Linked DNA regions of Homo sapiens: all the other regions are linked to region 1. The links are contacts of gene promoters, found by promoter capture Hi-C in blood cells and fetal thymus (Javierre and others, 2016). All regions are on one chromosome and are shown on one strand. The core of a region is centred on a gene start or on the middle of the fragment in contact, and the rest is flanking DNA. Distances in the headings are between cores, read along the strand shown.

Evidence for each region. Contacts are between HindIII fragments. The CHiCAGO score rates a contact against its expected background, and 5 or more counts as called.
Region 2: a contact is called between a fragment that was not itself captured here and the fragment with the promoter of DYNC1LI2 in region 1, in 6 of 17 cell types (naive CD8 T cells, naive CD4 T cells, M1 macrophages and 3 more). The highest score is 7.7, in naive CD8 T cells.
Region 3: a contact is called between a fragment that was not itself captured here and the fragment with the promoter of DYNC1LI2 in region 1, in 1 of 17 cell types (M1 macrophages). The highest score is 5.5, in M1 macrophages.

What each region holds. Positions count from the first base shown.
Region 1 is chr16:66,749,882-66,753,525 of GRCh38, forward strand. It overlaps DYNC1LI2 (dynein cytoplasmic 1 light intermediate chain 2), which reads right to left and starts at 1,728. Exons shown (of 13, transcript NM_006141.3): 1 at 1,604-1,728; 2 at 1,392-1,465. The coding sequence starts at 1,710. It overlaps DYNC1LI2-DT (DYNC1LI2 divergent transcript), which reads left to right and starts at 1,871. Exons shown (of 2, transcript NR_133569.1): 1 at 1,871-3,019; 2 at 3,115-3,644. RefSeq lists a silencer at 1,356-2,155 and an enhancer at 1,369-2,084. The HindIII fragment of the contact is 3,643 bases long and covers 1-2,657 here.
Region 2 is chr16:66,646,589-66,650,369 of GRCh38, forward strand. All of the region lies in intron 1 of CMTM4 (CKLF like MARVEL transmembrane domain containing 4), which reads right to left. Among named protein-coding and RNA genes, the nearest start is that of CMTM3, 44 kb to the left of the region's middle. The HindIII fragment of the contact is 8,901 bases long and covers 1-3,781 here.
Region 3 is chr16:66,623,955-66,627,731 of GRCh38, forward strand. All of the region lies in intron 2 of CMTM4 (CKLF like MARVEL transmembrane domain containing 4), which reads right to left. Among named protein-coding and RNA genes, the nearest start is that of CMTM3, 21 kb to the left of the region's middle. The HindIII fragment of the contact is 4,903 bases long and covers 63-3,777 here.

The DNA of each region.
Region 1 (3,644 bases), core at 478-2,977:
TTAATTATTAAGCACTTCTTCATCTCCCTCCACCCAAACAACACCCCCCTTCCCCGGATCCTTAAACATCAAGGAGAACCATCGCCAAACATTACTAGGCACTTCTGCCATTTAATAATATGGAATTACAGAACATGAGAATTGAAAGGCAGTCAGTCCACAGATCAAAGACCTCCTCTCCATCTCCAATGCCTCTACCTTATTCAGGCCCTCTGCATCCAGACCAAGGTGAGGACCTGTCAGCCTGACTTCAGTACCTGCTCATTTTGAGCTACTGTCCCTCTGCAGGCAGCGTTCTTTCTAAAACTCAGATCTGGTGATCTTGATCCCCCACTTCTTGAAGATCTCTAAGGGTCCGGTATTACCTACCACAGTCAATTCCTGAGAAAGGTCACACATTCTAACAGTAGGAAAACTACCAAGGCAGTGATTCCCATGGGAATTGGGGGATGGAGGTGAGATAAAAGCCATTTGAAAAATCAGAGAACTTCAGGAAACAGCACTAACTCTTCAGCCTTCCCACAATCTGCCCCCAACTTACCTTAGCAGCCACCAACCACAAGGCGCTTCTAGCAGTTTCCAAACCCCACACCCTCTTGTCATCTGTGTCCCTGCATACTGACACTTTTCTGCAAAATACTCAACCCCCGAATCATCCTCCTTCACCAGCTCTAAGCAGTGTAATGCTTCCACAATAATCGGCATGGTGCAATGCAATCACCAATACATCTGTCTTCCACCAGACTGAGATTCTTCTATAGTGTTTAAGAGTCGCCTATGCTGAGCCTGTGCCCAGCCCACAGGTCCCAAGCAACAAATGGACTTGCTGTGTGAATGTACCCAAACTCCCTCACTTGAGGAGAGTGAGGCCAGAGGGAGTAAGGGACCTGACTCAGGTAACCTAGCAGTGAGGGCTAGCATAATGGAGGAAACGTCCCCAGTGCTGACTCTCTGTCCTCTGCAAAGTCCCTAAAACCTCGGACTATGCACTACTGATGAGGCTCAAAGAAGGCTCCCGTGGTCATTTCCCCACAGCTCCGAGCCCAGGTCACCTCGTTCTCCCACCTTCTCCACCTAATCTCATCTACTAGCTTCCCCTCTCCACGACCTCAATTTGGTAACCGTCGAGGCAATGAAGGCATAGAGGGCCAAGTGACTGAAACAATATGCCGACAACCCCAAAGCACCACTACGCTCTCCAAAGAGGGCAGCATCCCACCCTCAGGCGCTGGAGGCTTGACCACTCTCCAGCTGACCGGCCAGGGCCGACGGTCCCTTTCCCGCCAGGCTGCGGGCAGGCGGCTGGAACGGGGAAGGCGGGGACCTGAGGGAGGGGCGCCCGCCTCGCCCACCCCAGCGACCTGGGGCAACGCCCCGCCGCCGGCGCTCACCGAAGACCAGGATGTTCTTGCCGGACGGCAGCTTGGACCTGGCGCGGGTGGACACTTCGCTCAGAATGGAGGACCTGTGGCGACAATGGCAAGAGTGGTCAGCCCCGGGCCGGGCTGGGATGGCCCGGCTCGCGTCGGCCCCTCAGTGTGTCCGACGGTCCGGCCCAGAGGCCGCGCCCCCCACGGCCCGGCCCGACCGCCCGCGGCCTCACCATAGGCTCTGGCCTTCCTCCTCCTCACTGGTCAGGTCGCCGGCGGCCGCCACCGCGGGCCCGTTGGGACCTAGCAGCAGCTTCTTCTCCACCCCCACCGGCGCCATCTTGCCAACTGCAGCCACAAAGAGGGCCCTCCCCCGGGCCCGCCGAGGACCCGCGAGGACCCGGGCCGGGCCGCCCCCCGCTCGCCGTCCCTCGCGCCGCGCCGCCCGCCGACCTTGCCGCGGCGACTGCGCCGCCCAACGTGTCCTCTAGGTCTGCGATGGCCACGGGCTCCCACGGGTTGCGAGGCCGCCGAGGTGGCGGGCGGCGGTCAGGCAGCCGCCGGGGCAGCCATGCGCGGGGAGGCGGTGGCAGGGGCGGGCACCGTCCGGACCGAGGGCGCGCTGGCGGCCTCTGCCGGCTGAGGGGCGCAGCGCAGCACCCCGCCACGCTCGCCGATTCCCCTGCGCCGTCGCGGGTCGGGCAGCCGGATGACCGACCCGAAAGCCTAGGCTTTGGGAATGAGACTGATGGACACAAAAGCGCCATTTATCTAGAGCTCACCATGTGCCAGAGTCACACATTATCTCACTGAATCTTATCTAACCCTTTCACAGATGAGGAACCTGAAGCTCAAAAAATTTAAGAAACCCACCCAAGGACCCAAGGCTAGAAGATAACATTCGGTACTTCTAATTTATTCCCCAACCTTGGACCATTATATCATGAACTTGGCCTAACCCTACTCAAGCCCTGCATTGAAAGACTAGCCTTAAGGAAGACCCCAGAATCCTCATAAATATCCTGCATTTCCCCCTCCTCCTCCGAAGACTAAAGACTGTGAAGTAGTGCTCTTGACCGCAGTGCATAATACACTTGGCTTTGCTTTATTAACATGCTTTTTAAAATGATGTTTTCAGGGAGCCAGCATTTCACACCAGAAGAGGAGCCCTTAATTTCCTTGGGGGCCAGCTGGCAGGTGCAGAGCGGGGAGAAAAATAAAAGGAAAGGGGATGGAAAAGGGAAAGAGCGGAGAGTAACCGAAGGAAAAACATACATTCCATTATCAAGCTTAATTTTAGGTGTGGCCTCTACTTGAGGGCTCTTGCCATTCTCTATGGAAACAGGCTAACAAGACATTTCTAAATATCACAAGGAAGTGGAATGTGGCAGAAAAGCACCACCTAAGTAGGTTTCAGATGAGTAGGATTGTGATCCTGATGCCAAAAAATCTGGCGGCATGAATTACGGGATAAAACAAATGGGCATATCATCTGCCAAACTGGATGTAAGGTTTAAACAAGACGAGAGTGAAAACCCACTGAGTTCCTCCCTTGGAAATCTGGGAAAATCAGGCAAAGTGCCAGAAGTCCTAAAAGGGCAAGCAGTGCTGAATTTTCACAGGACAGAAGATGGAGATGAAAATTACAGGCCAGTGAGCTTAATCAGCACTAAGTGAAATTTTGTGATTAAACACTAAAGGAAAAGAGAATACCAGATTTACACAGTATCTTTCTTTTTTGCAGGAGTACCAGGTAGGCGGATGCTGCAGATACAGCAAATGCAGATTTCAACAGGGCATTTGACAATTCACATCTTAGATGCGAAAGTGAAATCAATGCTGGATGATAGCACTGAGGCTTATTAAAGACTAGCCCAGAGGTGGCTGATGAAGAGGAGGGACCAGCAGATGAGGCTGCTAGGGGCCTGCCCAAACCTCCTGCCCTGGCCAGCCAATTCAGGGTGCCATCAGTGACTTGGATAAGAATACAGCAGCAGTCATGGAAGTTGTGGATGACCTGAAGCAGGAAGGGTTGCCTTATCTACTGCATGACAAACTGAGCAGAGACTAAATCTAACAAGTTGAAATTTAGCAGGAACTATTAAAGTCCTGTGGAAGAGTTTAACAAAAAAGCATAGGAAGGCCAGGTACGGTGGCTCACACCTGTAATCCCGGCACTTTGGGAGGCCGAGGCTGGCGGATCACTTGAGGTCAGGAGTTCCAGACCAGCCTGTCCAACATGGCCAAACCCCGTCTCTACTAAAAATACAAAAA
Region 2 (3,781 bases), core at 108-2,607, 100 kb before region 1:
ATTAGAAAAAAAAATTAAATGCCCTATGTATGGACACTTTTTTGAAACATCCAGGTTATGAGTTAAATTTTAGTGACCTCTAAGAACCAATCCTTACTTGTTTTGAAACCATTCATGAATTTTTTTTTTTTTTTTTGGGACACAGTCTCGCTGTGTTACCCAGGCTGAAGTGCAATGGTGCGATCTTGGCTCACTGCAACCTCCACCTCCTGGGTTCAAACGATTCTCCTGCCTCAGCCTCCTGAGTAGCTGGGATTATAGGTGTGCACCACCACACCCGGCTAATTTTTGTATTTTTAGTAGAGACAGGGTTTCACCACGTTGGCCAGGATGGTCTCGAACTCCTGACCTCAGGTGATCTACCCACTTCGGCCTCCCAAAGTGCTGGGATTACAGGCGTGACCCACCACGCCCAGCCTGGTCAGGACTTTTTAAAAGCCCTTTTGACCAGGTGCAGTGGCTCACACCTGCAATCCCAACACTTTGGGAGGCCGAGGTGGGTGGATCATGAAGTCAGGAGATCAAGACTATCCTGGCTAATACGGTGAAACCCCGCCTCTACTAAAAAAAAAAAAAATACAAAAAAGTAGTCGGGTGTGGTGGCAGGTGCCTGTAGTCCCAGCTACTCAGGAGGCTGAGGCAGGAGAATCGCTTGAAATGGGGAGGCGGAGGTTACAGTGAGCCGAGATCATGCCACTGCACTCCAGCTTGGGCAACAGTGCGAGACTCTGTCTCAAAAAAAAAAAAAAAAAAAAGTCCTTTTAAAAAGTACACAGGCTTCACAATTATAGCCTGTTTTCACAAAAGAAAGTTCTCTTTTTAGTCCAGATTTAATCTTGTCAGTCATCTGAGAAGTCAAAAACTTACCCTGTTTTTCCATCTAAAAAAGCAATCTATGACATCACCTAGAAATACGTGAGCATTGCTTCTGATACACCATTGGGGGTAAGGAAGGTGTGCGCAGGGCCAACTGTGAGGAGACTGGGGAAGAAGTTGGACAAAAGAGCAAATGAGGAATGTGAACATCTATCTCTCTGAGTGCTACTCAGAGAAGTTCAGGATCCAGCCTTAATCACCCACACAAAACACCAGAGAACCTAACTTCAAACTATTGTTCTTTCTTTTTTTAAAAAAAAATGAGTCTCACTATGTTGCCCAGGCTGGACTCAAACTCCTGGCTCAAGAGATCCTCCCACCTCAGCCTCCCGAGTAGCTGGGATTACAGGTGCACGCCACCACACCCAGCTTTGCTGTTCTTTGATTACTCATTAGACATCTGTGTGAGAGAAGTTGTGAAATCATTTGATAAAAGTGGTATTTTTATTTACAGTGATGGTGACCCACTGCTTTAAATGCACTTTGTCTGTATTCACTTGAATCCAAAGCAACTCTCATCCTATAAAAGACAGCTGTCATTAGGGTTGTAGGAGTCATTAATGCTGGCTGCCAAATATTTGTGGTTCTCCACCATCCAGCACCTTCCCCGCATCCTTTGAATTTGTGTGGGGCCACAAGACTACTTCTGGCTAATGAGCTGCCAAGTGCATCACTTTCAGGTGGAAGACTTTGTTGCCAGTATGAGATGTTCCAGAGACCTCCCTTCACCACAGTGCCCAGCAAGCTCTGAAATGTAGCTGCTCTACCAGCAGTGAGGACACATGGGCTAGAAAGAGTAAGCAGAAAAATGAACCTTGGTTGTTACTACCTAGTATTCTTGCTTTTCCCAACTGCTACGAGGATGGTGCCTTCATCTGTTTGGGAATGAAAATATTTTTCCTGGATCTGAGTTTTTCCTCATCATTAATATCTTAAGAAATCTTAGCACTTTGGGAGGCCGAGGCTGGTGGATCAACTGAGGTCAGGAGTTCAAGACCAGCCTGACCAACATGGTGAAACCCCATCTCTGCTAAAAATATAAAATTAGCTGGGCCTGGTGGCGCATGCCTATAATCTCAGCTACTCAGGAGGCTGAGACAGAAGAATCGCTTGAACCCGGGAGGCGGAGGCTGCAGTGAGCCGAGATCACGCCATTGCACTCCGGCCTGGGCAACAAGAATGAAACTCCGTCTCAAAAAAAAAAAGAAATAAATCTCAGCCCCCAGGCCGAGCACGGTGGCTCACGCCTGTCATCTCAACACTTTGGGAGGCTGAAGCAGGCTGATCACCTGAGGTCAGGAGTTCAAGACCAGCCTGGCCAACATGGTGAAACCCCATCTCTACTAAAAATACAAAAACTAGCTGGGTGTGGTAGCGCAGGCCTATAATCCCAGCTACTCAGGAAGCTGAGGCAGGAGAATCGCTTGAACCCAAAAGGCAGAGGTTACAGTGAGCCAAGATCATTCCACTGCACTCCAGCCTGGCTGACAGAGCGAGACTCTGTCAAAAAAAGAAAAGAAAAGGAAAAGGAAAAGAAAAGAAAAGAGAAATCTTAGCCCCCAGACACTATGTTCTAAACAGTGACTGAGGTTGCTGGGCACAGTGGTGCACACCTGTAGTCCTAGCTACCCAGGAGGCCTAGGCAGGAGGATCGCCTGTGCCCAGGAGTTTGAGGCTGCCTACCGTGAGCTATGATCATGGCTGTGTAATAGCCACTGCACTACAGTCCCAGCAATAGCGTGAGACCCTGTCTCTTAAAAAAAGAAAAAGTTCCTGAGGTGGGTGTGGACATTTGCCTTTATGTTTTAAAAGTCCATTTTTTTTTTAAAGTAGTATTTAGGCAAGTACCATCCCTTTATTCAGCTAAAATTAACTGAGGATCTACTACATGCCAGGCACGATCCTAACTCTAGGGATGCATTGGTGAACAAGCTCCTTAGGGAGCAAATATGCTGCTTTTTTCTTTTGGTCTTGATTCCTTCTCTCTATCTATCCATCTATCTATCTATCTATCTATCTATCTATCTATCCCTGATTTTTTTTCTTCCTAATATATGCATTATTTCCATGACAGGTCATTTCAAATCTATTGAAGAGTATATCCCAATTTAATCATGACTTATATCACCTGGTGTCCTGCAGACTCCACAGTGGGAGCAGGTATGGTCCGTCCTCAGCAGCCTCCCCACTCCCTAAGCCTGGGCTCAACCTCAGCCTTGCACTGGGTTCACACCCTCCTATGAACATGAGTCAGGTCCAGAGCCCGACTCCCTCCTCATGGGGGGCAGGGGCAGGGCTCTCACTGGCACTCGTCTGCTGCCCTCCTCTCCTGAGTATGGCTTCTTTCAGGGCCCCTAATCCCTGTACATGTCAGGATCACAGACATGTATAAGAAAGGCCACGCCCCAGGCAAACAGGGTGAGGCCAGACAACTTCTCCCTCAACCCTGATCGTTTTGTGGCACTTGGAGACTCTCTGTGCTTAAGGTCTCAGTTCCAGTCCAGCCAACACACGCTATTATACACAAAAAGAACTAACCAGGTGCGTGGCTCGGTGCCCAGGGAGGTATCGAGACAAAAAGTGCTGCTGGGATTTGGAAGAGGGAGGGTCAATGAGGGCTTAGGCAGCAGCAGAGGCTTTAGGAGGCTTCCCAGTCAACACCAAACTCAGGTGGTCTTAGAGGAAAAACGGGAGAGAACATTTGTGTGAGATGGTGCCTAACTTTCAAGATGTGTTCCTTGGTTGGCTGGAGGTGGGTGGAAGGTTGGGATACAACCTAGTTCCTCACCAAAGTGCCTCTGTTTTATGTTTATACTCCCATTAGCAGTGGTTCCTAAAGTTTTCTGGCCAAAGAACCGAACACCTGTTAATAGCCTTCTCCTAAACTAATGTTCCAAGACTAGTT
Region 3 (3,777 bases), core at 1,264-3,763, 130 kb before region 1:
CGCTCTTTCTCAAGCAGTCTTTCAAGCCTCTATGTCACTAAAGCCTGGAGAATTTTCTCCTAAGCTTCTTGCACAGCATGCATCCACCGTTTCACAGATTTAGCTCGTCTTATTTGTAGAAGGGAACATAGCAGGGTAATGAAAGGTCACAGCTTGACCAGGGTCCAAACCACCCATATGACTTTGGACAAGCTACTTTGTTTCTGTGCTTTACGTGAGAATGTACCCCCTTCCTCCCAGAGTTGTTGAAGGAATTAAATGGAACCATACAGGTGAAGAGCCCAGCATGGTGCCTGGCCCACAGCTACAGTGGCCTACATATTTACTGTCACTTCTGTTATTACTACTTTGGCATGAGGCACCCAGTAGCCTGGGTCATACCAGAGTACCTCTAAAACCTCTATAGGAAAAAAATTCAGGAAAAAGCCCAAACTGCCTGAGTGCCAGGCTGATTACACTATCCACACCTGATGGATCCTCTGGTCTGGCCTAGCTCCAAGGTCGATTTCCTCTTTTTGAAGATGTAAAGATGGCTGGTGCGGTGGCTCATGCCTGTAATCCCAGCACTTTGGGAGGCTGAGGCGGATGGATCACTTGAGGTCAGGTGTTCGAGAACAGCCTGGTCAACATGGTGAAACCCCATCTCTACTAAAAATACAAAAATTAGCTGGGCATGGTGGCGCATGCCTGTAATCCCAGCTACTTGGGCAGCTGAAGTACGAGAATCACTTGAACCCGGGAGGCAGAGGTTGCAGTGAGCTAAGATCGTGCCACTGCACTCTAGCCTGGGTGACAGAGCGAGACTCTTGTCTCAATAAAATAATAAAATAAGATGTAAAGAGACAATGCTGGCATCATAACAGTGCTGAGTCTTGCAGCAGACACCCAACCTGCTCCTGGCTCATGGAAAGCTCTGCTCAGACGCATCTGCCAGCAGGATGGGTTTCAGCTATGACCTGCGTAAGCCAGGGCAAATTTTTCACAAATTCAAACCAGGAAGCGTTTAGTTACACTCAGCTCTGGGTAAGATGCTGTAGGGGTAAAAAAAGAATATAAAATATACTTCCCAAAGCAAAGACTATTCAGAAACGAGGGGAAAATACAATACACTGTGAGGTCAAACATCAAATAAAACAGTATCAACATTAACAGTGACTACATAAAAACAGAGATGCAGCAAAGGGCTAGAAAACAAACAGGCCGGGCACGGTGGCTCATGCCTGTAATCCCAGCACTTTGGGAGGCCGAGGCGGGCGGATCACCTGAGGTTGGGAGTTCGAGACCAGCCTGACCAACATGGAAAAACCCCGTCTCTACTAAAAATACAAAATTAGCCGGGTGTGGTGGCACATGCCTGTAATCCCAGCTACTCGGGAGGCTGAGGCAGGAGAATCGCTGGAACCCGGGAGGCGGAGGTTGCAGTGAGCCAAGACTGCGCCGCTGCACTCCAGCCTAGGCAACAAGAGCGAAACTCTGTCTCAAAAAAAAAAAAAAAGAAAAAGAAAAAAGAAAACAGTCAAAAATTTTAAAGTTGTAGGAGTATCAGTAGTTTTAAATTTGCTTTAGTAATGATCATTAACAGTAGTGAGTGAAGAATGAGATGATGAATGGGAACAGCAAATACAGGGAAAAAATATGTCAAAAAGCCTATTTTAAAAAGATAAAAAATAATCTTTCAACATGATCTGAGGCTAAGAAACCAGATTAAACCAGGGGAAAAAAACGCCAGCAACTGCTAACAAGAGCATAACATATCTGCCTCCTCAAATCCCACTGAATCATATTTAAATACTGAAGCACTTGCTTAAAAGATGAATCTAAATATAATTGAGCTTCTAGGACTGTGCTGTCCAATAGGGCAAACACTAGCCATATGTGACTGAAGTTAAACTAATTCATATAAGATAAAAAATTTCACTCTTCAATCACACTAGCCACAATTCGAGTGCTCAGTGGCCACATGTGACAAGTGGCTGCCTCAAGGGCACAGCAGATCAGAAAACATTTCAATTGTCAGAGCAGCTGCTATAGCACCACACTGCCCTGAGATCAATGACTAGGTCACAGAGAAAATGGGGAAAGAAGGACATATGAAACACTACCATGAGGGTGCATGCAGCCAACTCAACTGCAAGACCCTCTACAGGATAAATGACCCAGTTTTTCTAACAAGTCAACAGAATAAAAAGAAAAAGGGAGGCCAGGCACAGCAGCTCATGCCTATAATCCCAGCACTTTGGGAGGCCGAGGTGGGCGGATCACCTGAGGTCAGGAGATGGAGACCAGCCTGGCAAATATGGTGAAACCCCGTCTCTACTAAAAATACAAAAATTAGCTGGACCCCGTCTCTACTAAAAAATTAGCTGTGGCCAGGCGTGGTGGCTCACATCTGTAATCCCAGCACTTTGGGAGGCCAAGGTGAGTGGACAGCCTGAGCTCAGGAGCTCAAGACCACCCCTAGGCAATATGGCGAAACCCCATCTCTACTAAAACACAAAAAATTAGCCAGGCACGGTGGCATGCACCATGTAGTCCCAGTTACTCGGCAGGCTGAGGCAAGAGAATCGCTAGAGGCCAGGGGGCGGAGATTGCAATGAGCCAAGATCTCGCCACTGCACTCCAGCCTGGGCGACAGAGTGAGACTCCCTCTCAAAAAAAAAACAAAGTTAGCTGGGCATAGTAGCACATGCCTGTAGTCCCAGCTACTCGGGAGGCTGAGGCAGAAGAACTGCGTGAATCCAGGAGGCAGAGGTTGCTGTGAGCCCAGATTGCGCCACTGCACTCCAGCCTGAGAGACAGAATGAGACTCCGTCTCAAAGAAAAAAAAAAAGAAAAAAAAGGAAAAAAAAGAAAATCATATTGGGGGCCAGGCATGGTGGCTCCTGCCTGTAATCCCAACACTTGGGAGGCTGAGGTGGGTGGATTGTTTGAGCTCAGGAGTTCGAGACCAGCCTGGGCAACACAGCAAAACCCTGTCTCTACAAAAAAATTCAAAAAAATTAGCCAGGCATGGTAGTGCGTTCCTGTAGTCCCAGCTACTTGGAAGGCTGAGGTAGGAAGATTGTTTGAGCCCAGGAGGTCGAGGCTGCAGTGAGCGGAGACTGCGCCTCTGCACTGCAGCCTGGGGGACAGCGTGAGACTCTGTCTCAAAAAAATAAATAAATAAATGATATAAGGCAAAAAGGTCTAAGTATAAGGAAGCAAACAAAGTGCTCAATAGGGGAGTTGTTCAATAAAATGGTATTTCCATAATGGAACACTATGCAGTCATTAAAAATAATCACGTAGTTATATATTTAACATGTAAGGTACAATAATTTAAATGAAAAAGCATGATTTTAATGGTTCCATTTTTCTGCACTCACATATCACAACACACATGCATACGCAAAAGACTGTCTAGAGAGAACAGTTTAGAAGGATTTATACTCAAGTATTTTAAGTGGTTACCCTTCATTGGGTCATATCACGTATTTTTAAACAGCTTTATTGAGATATAATTCACATACCATAACATATACCCAATTAAAGTATATAATTCAATCACAATGTAATTTTAGAACATTTTTAGCACTCCAAAAAAAGCCTCATACGCATTAGCAGTTATTTCTCATTCCTCCCCCAACCCTAAGCAACCACCAATCTGCTTTCTGTCTCTATGGATTTGCCTATTCTGGACATTTTTTTTTTCCTGTGTGTGAAATCTGCCACAAATATTCTGGACATTTCATACAAATAGAATGACATAACATGTGCTTTGTGCCTGGCCTCTTCTGA